2 separate regions of the Homo sapiens genome follow, and region 2 is linked to region 1. Evidence: promoter capture Hi-C in 16 types of primary human blood cells and fetal thymus (Javierre and others, 2016). All regions are on one chromosome and are shown on one strand. Each heading gives the region's core, a stretch centred on a gene start or on the middle of the fragment in contact. The rest is flanking DNA. Distances are from core to core; before and after follow the strand shown. Region 1 holds the start of HMX3 (H6 family homeobox 3). Region 2 overlaps LINC02641 (long intergenic non-protein coding RNA 2641).

The links. The method cuts DNA at HindIII sites, captures the fragments that hold promoters and counts their contacts. A CHiCAGO score of 5 or more calls a contact.
Region 2: a contact is called between a fragment that was not itself captured here and the fragment with the promoter of HMX3 in region 1, in 4 of 17 cell types (M2 macrophages, M0 macrophages, naive CD4 T cells and 1 more). The highest score is 8.8, in M2 macrophages.

The regions. Positions count from the first base shown.
Region 1 is chr10:123,133,746-123,139,715 of GRCh38, reverse strand. It overlaps HMX3 (H6 family homeobox 3), which reads right to left and starts at 3,746. Exons shown (of 2, transcript NM_001105574.2): 1 at 3,266-3,746; 2 at 293-2,658. The coding sequence starts at 3,665. The coding sequence ends at 1,985. RefSeq lists silencers at 3,318-3,367, 3,378-3,787, 3,838-3,917, 4,298-4,427, 4,458-4,577 and 1 more and enhancers at 1-393, 1,434-2,398, 3,581-4,531. The HindIII fragment of the contact is 8,924 bases long and covers 630-5,970 here.
Region 2 is chr10:123,406,650-123,413,056 of GRCh38, reverse strand. The region is part of intron 6 of LINC02641 (long intergenic non-protein coding RNA 2641); the gene reads right to left. Among named protein-coding and RNA genes, the nearest start is that of LINC02641, 62 kb to the right of the region's middle. The HindIII fragment of the contact is 803 bases long and covers 3,844-4,646 here.

The DNA.
Region 1 (5,970 bases), core at 2,497-4,996:
CGCGCTGTCGCTTTGCTCAATTTCGCAAACTAGATAAGCCTAAGTCCACTCCCCTTCCGCCCAGCATTCTTCCCTGCTCGCTGGGCGTTTCAGGCCGCGGAAAGTACAGGGGAGAGAGTGCCTCTGGTCGCGAACAAAGCCGCCTCTGTCTCCACCGCCTCCCGGAATACAGGGTTGTGCGTCCAGGTTGTACTTAGAGAGCGCAGAGGCAGTCAGCGAGCAAGACAGAAAAGAGTTTTGGAGACATTTGCTCTAGGGAAAATCGTCCAAACTTACACACTCTGGCAACACGTAAAGCTTTTCTTTTCTTTTTAATTAATTCAATGTCACGACAACATTAGTGTAACAATATTTTGTGGGTTTTTTTTTTCTCTTTTTCTTAAAAAGGGACTCAACCCAGGCAGAGGTGAGGGAGATGAGGGGAAACAAACTATCACAGAACAACAGGTGTACCGACAGAAAGAAAACAGATTGGGTGACAGAGCCAGGAGCCCTGCGGAGTAGAGGGTGAACTTTACAAGAAATCTGTACATTTATCAAATAAGTTAAAATTCTGCTAAATTGATTGTCCTTCACTTAAAGCGCTCCAGTATGCCTAACTTACTCCTTTGAGCATCACTACCTAAGCTTGTTTCTTTCTTCCCCCCTTTCCCCTGCCTACTTTTTTCTTTCTAAATGAATGACCATGATTATACAGTGAAAAGGTCTGTTTCCCACGGTGGAGGAGGAAACAGCTTTCTCAGGAGATTTTGTACAATATTGCACAGGTCAACGTACAATAATTACTGCAGAACATGAAAAGTAAGAGGAGAGGATAAAAGATATCATATTAAAAATACTGAAATTACTCTCTCAAAACAGGGAACAAAGTAATAATAGTAATATTAATAATAATTTACAAATGAAATTCTCAAAATAAATGCTACTAATAAATAAGACCACTTAGACCAGGCCAGATATGGAGCTGTTTCAAATAGTCAGAGTTCTGATTTTTGGCTGTCTTTTCTCTTTAGACACTTAGAGAATTCTTCCATCACAAAGTAAGACCGATGAAGAGGCTAATTGCAACAGACCTCTCCAGAAGAGAAAAGCGGCCTGAGTCGGGATTCTTATGAGAGGCTGCTCATATTTTGAAAATTAAGGTGGATAACTGATTTGGGGGTTGGGAGGAAGAAACATACCCAGAAATCCAGAAATAAAAGTACTATCATATGAATTCTCTCCCTCTCTGGATTCTGAAAACAGTTCTATAGAAAAGGAATAAACTAGGCCGGGCGCAGTGGCTCACGCCTGTAATCCCAGCACTTTGGGAGGCCGAGGCGGGCGGATCACGAGGTCAGGAGCTCAAGACCAGCCTGGCCAACATGGTGAAACCGCGTCTCTACTAAAAATACAAAAATTAGCCGGACGTGGTGGCACACACCTGCAATCCCAGCTACTCGGGAGGCTGAGACAGGAGAATCACTTGAACCCGGGAGGCGGAGGTCGAAGTGAGCCGAGATCGCGCCACTGCACTCCAGCCTGGGCAATAGATAGAGCAAGATTCCGTCTCGGAAAAAAAAAAAAAAGCAGAAAAGAATAAACTAGAGGGATTTAGGTTTTGCGCTTATTTTCCTTCTATAAAAATAAAACCAAAAAGCCACCGCGCAATGGAAATTTGGAAGGGAGGGCTGCACATTTTACAAAAACTATCGGCCGAAATCTCTGACCCGAAAATTTTGTCTTGTTCCTGCTTTCTCTTAATATAAGCCAAAAACCAAAAGTAAGAGGGGAAGCGCCTCCAATCCATTAGGGATGAATTGCACGAAAATGCATTGCAAATACTTACAAAATGCTACCGACTGGGGGAGGGGAAGCAGAGGCTGCGCGCCCAAGCCCCAGTTCCTGAAGGCCGCTGGACTTCTCGGCGCCCTCGGCCCGGCCCAGTCTCCTCCGGGGTCCGGACAAGGAGGCCGGGCGCTCCCTCCCCCACCCCTCTGGGGCCTCAGACCGGCCGTAGCAGCGGCACGGAAGAGACCACCGGGTGCGAGTAGTAGACGGGGTGCGGGAAGGTGAGCAGCGGCTGGCTGACTGGCACCGGGGCCCCCGCGGCTGCAGCCGCCGCGCCCTCGGCCGCCGAGTTCTCGTGGTAGAGGATGGGCACCCGCACGATGCGCTGCGCCGCGGCATGGCTCAGGTTGGCCGCCTCCAGCTCCGCCGCCAGCTGCCGCTTCCACTTGTTGCGGCGGTTCTGGAACCAGATCTTGACCTGCGTCTCGGTGAGGTGCAGGGACGCGGCCAGGCCGGCTCGCTCCGAGCTGCTCAGATAGCGCTTCATGTCGAAGGTGGACTCGAGCTGGAAGACCTGGCTGCGCGAGAAGACTGTGCGCGTCTTCTTCTTGCGGCACGCCGGCTTCTTCTCTGGACTTTCAGCGCCCTTCTTCCAGTCTTCTGCGCCCGGAGTGGCCGCCGCCGCCCCTACGCTCGCCCCGGCCGCGCCTGGCGCCGCTTCGCCTTCCTTTTTGCTTTCCTCGGAGTCGCTCTCCTCCAGAATGATCTCGTCCGGGCTCTTGGAGTCCAGCTCCTTGTGATCGGGGTCGGCCTTGAGCAGTGGCTCCGGAGAGTCGCGGTCTGTGCCGGAGGCGGGGGAGGAGTCTCTCAGCAAGGCCTTCTCCGAGGCTGGGGAGACAGACAGACGGACGCACACACATGCACACCGACACAGCCTTGAGCGAGGCCCGGCGCCTGGGGACGGCAGGCTCAACCCGCGCCGGCCTCCAGGTCCCAGGCCATGAGGCCTCACCATTCCCGCGGGCTGCCTCCTTCTCGGCTGGGCCAGAGAAGGGACGCCGAGTCCTGGGATCCCCCTCCTCCCGAGGACAGGCAAGCAGATGGTGGTAGCGCGGCCACCTCCTTCCATTCCCTCAGCTTCCTCGCCAGGGGCCGGCAGAACGGTTCCCTTTCGGCTTAGGCGCATTGGAATCACCCCCTCCTTCCAGGCCGTGTCCCAAGCCCCGGCCGTCCGAAGCCTCCCTATTCACGCCCGAGGCCACTTTTCCCGGGAAGCACCGTGCCCGGGGCTCCAATTCCACTTCTTTTCTCACCAAGTGGGATTGGATTAACGGGCAGCGCAACCCAGCGCGAGGGCAGGCTAGGGGCCGAAAAAAACTGACCGAGCAGAGGGTTTGCGGGTGCTGGGGTCCCAGAACTGCGGAGGGAAGCAGCGCGGGGCGGGGACGGGGCGGGCGCGCAGGGGGACAACGAAAGTTCAAAGAGAGGTCGGTACCTTCAGGTCGCGGGAGGTGGCCGCCGGCGGGGGTCAGGGTGTAGGGGTACCACCAGGCTGGGGAGCGCTCCAGGTAGTGCGCGGGCAGGGCAAACCTCTGCGCCGGGATCTCAAAGCGAGGGAAAGCCAGGTCGCCCACCTGCGAGAGCGCGAAGCCCGCGGCGCCCTCCAGGGCCCCCTTGGCCGCCGCGGCAGCGGCAGCGGCGGCGGCGGCGGCAGCCGAGGCTGGCGCGAAGAGCGTCCGTGGGGGCGGCTGAGGCTTAGGGGGCGGCCGGTGGTGGTCTCCGTTGAGCAGGTTCTTGATGGAGAACGGGGACTCCTTGGGAGCGGGTGGGGGGGGCGGCGGCGGTTGGGGCTGTGCGCTGGCGGTGCCGGCAGCGTCCGGCCCGGGTTCCGGCATGGTCCCCTCTCCTCCGGGTCCCCGGGAGGGAGGGAGCGGGACAGGCGGGCGGCGGGGCGAGCAGGCGAGAGGCCGGAAATCAGACCATAAACGGAACTCAACTACGGGGCGCAAAGTCGGGGGCCGCCCCGGGCGCAAATCCAACGGCGGGAGGGCGGAGTGAGGACCCAGACGGGCGGGCTCGCATGAGGGAGGGGTGCGGAGGGGCGGGGAGCGGCCCTGCCGCGGCACCGAGGGATCGAGGCGGCTCGGCTGCGGCTGCGGCTCCCGCGGAGGAGGCAGCAAGAGCAGTCCCCGGCTCGAGGCTGCGTCAATCCGGCGCCGGATGCTAATGATGAAATCAAAATGTCATCCAAGTTAAATGCGGGGAGTATACGGCGATTGGGCGCGTACAATGGCAAATGGGATTAGGCAGGCGAAGGCTCAGCCGAGCCCCGGCCCCGCAGCCGCCTCCGCCACCGCCCCCTCCTCGCCTTCCCTCGGATTTTGGCGCTTTGGCTTCGGGCTATAAGAGCCCGCCCGTTATTGGCTTTATATAGTCCAATTAGGCAGCAAATGAGGACAAGCCTATTAGCACAAAAGGATATTGGCTCCCGCTAAAGAGGCACTCGGAGCGCTCCTGCGAGCGCAGGAGGCGAGCGAGGGACGCGGAGCAGGCGGCGCCCTTGGCCGAAGCGCACTAACGGCCGCGAGCCCGGAGACCGCGCCTGCCTCTCCCCCCTGCGGCGCAGGGACCCGCTTCCCGCCGCCAGGCCTGCGGGAGGGGGGAGGGGCGGACCAGGCCCTCCCGGGTCACCTCGGGGTTATCTGCGCTCGCAGCTGCCGCTCCCCCGCCCCCTGGGGCTGGACAGGGGCCCGCCGCCCCCACGCAGCTGGAGAGCCACGCAGCGCCGGCCCAAGAGGCAGGACGTGACCTCGGCCCTCGGAGAACTCATCATTTTCCTACCCTTTGGGGTCCGGCGACCTCGGTATTTTTCCTAAAGCCTGCTAGGAAGGGCGAGGCCAAGAAGAGAGGGATTTGGGTTCCCCACCCACCATCCAGCCGATAGTAAGGGAATCCAGGTGTAAGTCCTCGCACTGCGTCTTCGGACTCAGAAATCCGCGTGGCCTTGGCCTTTAGCCCTGGAAAACCGAAGAGTGAGCCTTCCCCCGGGACCAGGAGTGGGTGTGCCTGTGTGCGTATGCGCGCTGACCCGGCCAAAACCCGCGCGTCACTCGGTGGGGCTGCTGGGGCAACAGCTTCTCGGCACCGACGGCTGCTCTCGGAAGGGCACCCCTCTGCTCTGGCCGCCGGTGCCCAAGGCTCGCGGATCAACTCCGAGTCTGTGACCCCGACGACAGCACTTTCTCCCAGGAAGTCTCTCCGGCCAGCTGGCGTTTGGAGCTGTCTAACTAACGCTTTAATGGGGGCAAGGTGAACCGAAGGCGCAGCGGCGTAGCTTCCTCCGCCGCGGCAAGCAGCGGCATCCGCTGCGCGTCTCGACGGCAGCGAAGTCCTTAGAGAACCACACTGGACCTTTGCAGAACGGCTTAGTGAAAGGACATTCCACTCCACTGGCTTTAAAAACAGCTCCCCGGTTCGCACGAGAAGCCCATGAGGCAGACATTTAAGACTCATGATTTAAGCATCAAGTAAATCAGAATTGTTTGTGAGGTCCCCTCCCGAGAGACAGCTTTCTTATCAGAGAAAGGTGACAAACTGGCCTCACCCTCTTCCACCCTGGTGAAGCTCCCGCACACGAGGGCTTTTTGGGATCCCTTCACCTCCCCACCGCTTTCTTTTTCGTTAGATTGAGCCTCGCCTAATTCAAGGCCGCCCTGCATTGGCAGACGTGATCGTGTGGGGTCCCCACTTGAGAGGTAGATTTTGTTTTTCGGTCCTGGGGCGTCAGACCCTCCCCCACCAAATCTCGACGGGCATATGTAATGTTTCTTTCTGCATTCATCTACAGCAGCGAACCCCATTTTTGCTTTGGAAATCTGGAAACGTAAATGGCGCTTCCATAAACAATTACTGTTATTACTCCCTTGAGTTTACACAGGGCTTTACTGGAATGCAAAACGCTACGCCATCCAAAATCTGGGTTGGAACGGATCACTGCCCTGAGACCCCAGCAGGGTGGGTCTCATACTTGGATTTTGTAAGTGGAAACCCGCGCCCAGAGAGGAGGAAACTGGGCCTAGGTCGCCCAATCGCTGCTGGATACCCAGAGGTCATTTTCCCCCAACCGCAGAAATAGCTCGATGCACGTAGGTCTATGAGGGTTGGGTGGGCACCGCCTGCACACAGCCTGCCACGCGGCCG
Region 2 (6,407 bases), core at 2,996-5,495, 270 kb before region 1:
AAAATGCAGGAACATAGACCCAATCTAATTGTAAGGGAGACTAGGAAGAGTGGAATTCCTGTGTGTCCGGGAAGAAGAAACAGGATTACAGAATGTACCAGGTTAAATAGTGTCTCCCCCAAAATGTGTGTCCTTTCCAGAGCCCTGGAATGTGATATTATTTGGAAATAGATTAGTAGCAGGTGTAATTAGTTTAATTAAGATGATGTCATCCTGGAGAATGGAGGGCCCTTAATCCAATATGACAGGTGCCCCTATTAGAAGAGGAGAGACACAGAGACAGACACAGAGGGAAGACGACCCTGGGTTGACAGAAGCCGAGATTGGTGTGATGCTGCCGCAAGCAGGAGAGGCCAAGGATTGCTGGCAACTGCCATAAGCTAAGAAGAAGCCAGGAAGGATCCCCTCACAGAGCCTTTGGGGAGGGCATGGCCCTGCAGAGACCCTGCTTTCAAACTTACAGTCTCCAGAACTGTGAGTGAACACATCACTGCTGTCTTAAGCCCCCCAGCTTGTGATACTTTTTCATGGCAGCCCCAGGAAGCAAATACAGTGAGCATTTCAGTGCCTGTCGACTACGTACTTCTTTAAGCCTCAGTTTCCTCACCTGTAATATGGGCATAATAATGATAATTAACCAATAAGTTTCTCAGAAAATCAAATGAGATGAAGTATGTGAAGTGTTTAGCACACTGTCTGAACCCTAAGTGCCTGAATTAGTCCATTCTCACACTGCTATAAAGAACTACCTGAGATTAGGTAATTTATAAAGAAAAGAGGTTTAATTGGCTCACAGTTCTGCAGGTTGTACAGGCTTCTGCTTCTGGGGAGGCCTCAGGAAACACAATCATGGCAGAAGGTGAAGGGGAAGCAGACACGTCTTACACGGCTGGAGCAGAAGGAAGAGAGAGAAGCAGGAGGTGCTACTCACTATTTTAAACAACCAGATCTCGTGAGAACTCACTCACTATCATGAGAACAGCATGGAGGAAACCACCCCCATTAGCCAATCACCTCCCACGGGGCTCCTCCAACACTGGGAATTACAATTCGGCAGGAGATTTGAGAGGGGACACAAATCCTAGCCATATCAGTGCCCGATAGGGATACCGTGATAATGACTGTTGCCAGGTGGTTTGGAGGTAAATATTGTGGCCTGTGGATTTGCCTATTGGCTGGCAGAAGAATCTAAGACTCAGCATCCTGAAGAAACCTGCAAAGTGGAGAGAGTGAGGGATTAGGGATATAAAGGCTGGGGTGGAGCCCAGCTGTGACTCATGTGCCCTGTGCTGTTGATTGGGAAAATCCAATCATTTCTTCATCTGTGAAAATGGGGGTAATAATAAATGCCTGCTCTACTTACTTCAAGAGGATGTTTGGGGTGCGAAATGAGATACAAAACTCTTACCCTAAATGTACAGCTGATGAAAAGCAAAGAATTGCCTCAGAGGTGAACTTCATTAGGGGTTAGATTCTAAAAGGCTGTGTGGGGCTCTAATCACCTAGAGCCAACCACAGCCTTGGAAAATCCATTGGGGGCACCTGTTGGACGCCAGCATTCTGTCTCTCAAAATCCAGCCCTGCTAGGTTTCCTTTAGCCTAAGTTGAACACCGAGTTGACTTGCATTTAGGAACAATGTTGCACAACTATCTTTAAACCACAGAATCTCACATAGCATCGTGAGATGCCCCCCACTGGGAGGGGCAGACACCACAACACACAAGAATGGAGACAGGGTGGGAATGTCAGGTTCACTGCTTCTATCCCAGATATACTCCAAGGAAGAGACAGAATCAGTGTCTCTCTCCCTCTCTCTCTCTCTCTCCTTCCTTCTCTTAAGGGCGAGCAATTGGAATCACCTAAATTATAAGACATAAAGTAGAGTAGTCCACTATCCTTAAATATTTAGTGGTTGTAGTCCTATTTGCATTCCTTTGGTAGAGAGAGGATTCAGCAAACACCTGTTTGTGCCATCTTGATGCGAAGGGTAATCCATGGAATTTCTACGCTCCCCCTGGCAGCCAATTAGCACCTAACTCTCCACAAGTTCAGTAACTAAGAAATCTGGGTTTTCCTTGCAAGGCAAAGGCATGGAGCAGTGGTAGACACGTGAATGCAGAATTTGGGGGCACCTGATGGCTGCAAACTTGCCCTGTTCTCTCATTCTGTGAGCAGACTCCTAAACGCTGGGGTGCGTCTGGTGTCTTTAGCCATTGGCTAAATTCTCAAAGGGGCTGTTTGTGTGACAGCTACACCTCTGCAATTTACAAACTTTTTCCAGGGCCACGGGTAAAATTTCACTACATATCCATTATTTTGTGGACCTTTGAAATGAGTTAAAATCTGACCACACCTCAGCACCCTTTAAACTCCATACTGGCTTCTGTGCTGGGGTGAAGTCAGCAACTGACGACGTCTCCATCATCACAGGAAACACTTTCTCTTCCCACTAAAAGCGTTGCAGTGACTTTCATAGTTGTGACCTCAACTTTGGATCAAATGGATTACTAATGTGTATTTATACAGTTTCTGAGTGATCAGAATGGATTTTATAACAACAGATACTGAGACCCAAGAACGCAGCATCAAGGGTATTCAAAAAGACATTGATCATCAAACTCCAGTTGCATCATAAGTGCCTGGATGATACTGAGATTAATTCCCAGCTTCCTGCATCCCAACCACACACTATTTCTGACCTTGGCTGCAGGTTCAATTGACACTCAAACCAGTAACACTGTCAGAAGCAGGTGGTGAGCACATCACTTTGCTATAACAACAACATCAGAAATCAGACAGAGCTGCTTTTTAAGATGTGCTTTTTATCCAAGTTCGATATTTTTCCTGAGAGTGATGTTGATCAATTCCTGAGAACTCCAGAACTCTCAAGCCTCGTCAGTACAACCAGGCTACAATCAATGAATATAATCAAATAAGGAAGACCTCACAAGCCCAGCACATGACTCTGACTAGCTAGAAAATTGGAGGGCAGAAAGAAAAGCGACAAGGTCATATGCAGAGAAAATAAATTTGTTCTCCTGGTGACACTGGAGAGGAATTTGGCCTTACGTTCAGGCCTCAAGTGAAGAAGAGATCCCCGGCAGAAGGCACCCCACGCCACTGGTCAGGTGTCTGCACAGGCAGCTTCATGGAAGGGCTATTTAAGTGAGAAAGAGTTGAGCAAGCACCTCTGACCGCCTTCAAGATCCCACAGGTGCAGTGGACTCCTGAGCCACTGGGAGACTAAAGGGAGAAGCATATGTCTGATCAAGGAAAAAAAGTCCACGGCTATGGACAAGAGAATCTGTTTGGTAGACTAAAGTCACCCTGAAATTCTGGGGTTTTAAATAACACATACTCACTTAAGATCTGGCATATGTATTTATACAAAAGACTAGAGCTTCTGGCCAGGAGTCAAGAACAGCCTGTCTGCCCGTGACGCCTAATTACAAATTGGGCTGGAGTTGGGGAGGGGGGTTGGCTATTTGGCAGTAGAAGCAATCATGAACTGCTTTGCAAAAACTGAAATAGAATAAGAAAAATATAATAGGATTCCCTAAGAAAGTGTAGAAGCTGGAAAGAGGCTTTGAGATCCTCCACTCACCTCCCACTTTACTCCCCTAGCTGGCTCCCTCCATCCCCACCATCCCTCCACCTCCTCGGAAGCCTGAGTCCCAGAAAATTAAGCCATGAGTCCAAGTTCATCCAGCTGAAAATCAGGAAGGGCTGCAGCTCAGACCCTGCTGTCTGCACTCCTGGGGTGCGGTGCTTTCCATTCCAGCAAATTTGCTTTGGGGGAAAAGATTTTGATGACAAATGGGCTCTATGCCTTAGAAAAAGCTTCCCTGCAGGAGTTCCTTAAAAAGTCGTTTGTCCTAATATATTTATAGCACAATTTGGCTTCTTAAAAAAAATTGTTTTCATGTCATGAATAGATCCATGGCAAAAAGCAAGGCCTTTTTGCAGAAAACAAAGACTGCTGACATCCTGACCTTGTCTAATGCAAACCTTTTAATTTTGACATAGAGCATCTTGACACTTCACCTCTACCAGGGATTTCCAGTCTGGCTGTCCATCAAAACCATTTGGGGGCTTGCTAGTAATGAGAATCATAGATTCCTAGACTCCAAGCCAGGCCTGCTGAATCAGAATCTATAGGAATGGAGTCCAGGAATTCATATTTTAGAATCTTCCTCGATGACTCAGATGCAGTCTGACACTCGTTCAATGACCACTATTTAGGAACTACTATCCATATCATAGAATATACCAGAGTGAAACTCGCTATTGCATTACAGTAGGTTGCCCTAGAAGAGGGTGCTCCATTGACCCAACCATCAGGGAATTTGTTATGATGACTGAAGAGAGGAAGAAAAATATCATTTATCCCCCAATGGCCTGTTTAGTTTTTGACTGTAGCCTGTTCAAGATGTTAAACATCTTTAAACATCATGTATACATCCAGTTTCTTCCTGAGACTGGAATTCAGTGCAGAGATTTCATGCAGGAAATATTGAGGAATCCAGTGCAGAGGTCTCATTTGTCCCTAAGCCACATGTCTTTAATTTCAGGGACATTCTGCCCTCATCCACATTTACCATCTCTCACCAGGCACTCAGAGACCTCCCTCCAAAGCTCCCAAGCTTTTTTGAGGTTGGGAAGGGAACACTGAATTTTATTTTAAATCTCTTTCATCTTTCCTCTCCTCACCTCAAAATAAAAATTGATCTCTAAGGAGCACAGGTATTGGCTTAACTCGTTCTGAATTACCCTAATCTGGAGTGACTCTTTGTCACTCATCATTTTACAGGTAGCAAGTCACATACCTATTATCCTGTTATCTCCTCCCAGAAAAGAACATTCTAATGGGAACTTGCTGTTCTGTTTTGCCAGCACCCTCAGCAACCAGGCTTCAGAGCCCCTGCTAGGAATGTTATGGGGACTGAAGGTTTCAGACTCCCCCCACGCCTTACACAAACGAGGAGAGAATCAGGTTTCTCACCACTGGCCACAGCAAGGTGGCCATGGGCCCTGCACTTCGAGTAGAGGGGGCCTGGCTTTGGGAGTCAGGCAGACCTGGGTTCAGATCACGGCATTGCTACTGGGTCACATGGATAAAATGAAGGGTCACATTCATTTTATCCGTCTAGGTCTGGTTCATGCTCTGTAAAATGGAAACAATGTTACCTCTGGTACTGGAGTTAGGGGATGTGTATGAAGAGACAGATGATGATTTTGAAAATAATGTAGCTCTATATTAAAACGCTGTGGTTTGCATTACATTTTAATTGGGAGAACAAGATAAAACAGGATGCTCAGTTGAGTTTCAAATAAACAACAGATGACTTTTCATTATAAGTTTGTCTCATGCAATATTTGGGACAAACTTATAACTAAGAAATTATCGCTTGTTTGTCAGAAATTTGAGTTTAACTGAGCTTCCTGTACTGTTACTTCCTAAATCTGGCAACCCTAATTTTAATGGAACATTTTGTTAACAGGGATGAATTAAATTCCTAGACAAGGAAAAGAATTGCTGACTTTAAGAAAATAAAAATAAAACCAGCTTTATTGAGATAAAATTTATCAGCCATATGATTCACTCAAAACAATGTTCTTAGTATAGTATTGTATAACCATAACCATAGCCTGAGTTTAGAACATTTCCATAACCTGACAAAGAAGCCCAGTACCCATGAGCAGTTACTCCCAGTCACTCCCACCTGTCACCCCCAGCCCTACAAGGAATCTGCTTTCCATCTCCACAGGTTTGTCTATCCTGGACACTTTGTATGAGTGAAGTCATTCAGTATGTGGTATTTTGTAATGTCTTCTTTCACTCCGAATAACTTTTTCAACATTCATTAATGTCGTAGTATTGTTGCTTATATCAGTTTTCTGTTATTTTTTATTGCCAAATAATATTCCATTGTATGAATAAACCACACTTTGTTTATCCATTCATCAGATGATGGGTGCTTGGGTTGTTCTGCTTTGCAGCTACTATAAATAATGCTGCTATGAACATTCATGGACGAGTTTTCATGAGGACATATGTTTTCATTTCTCAGATATATACCTAGGAGTGGAATTCCTGGGTCACATGGTAACTCCATTTAACTTGGAATTGCCACACTGTTTTCCAAAGTAGCTACAGCAATGCATGAAGGTTGCAATTTCTCCACATCTTCATCAACACTTACTATTGTCTATCTTTTTGGCTCTAGACATCTCGTGGGTACGTAGTGGTTTGTTACTGTGATTTTGCTTTGTATTTCTTTAATGACTAACAAAACTGAGCATCTTTCCATGTGCTTACTGGCCATTTGTTTATCTTCTTTGGAGAAATGTCTATTCAGATCGTTTGCCCTTTTGTAAGATTGCACTATTTGTCTTTTTATTATTG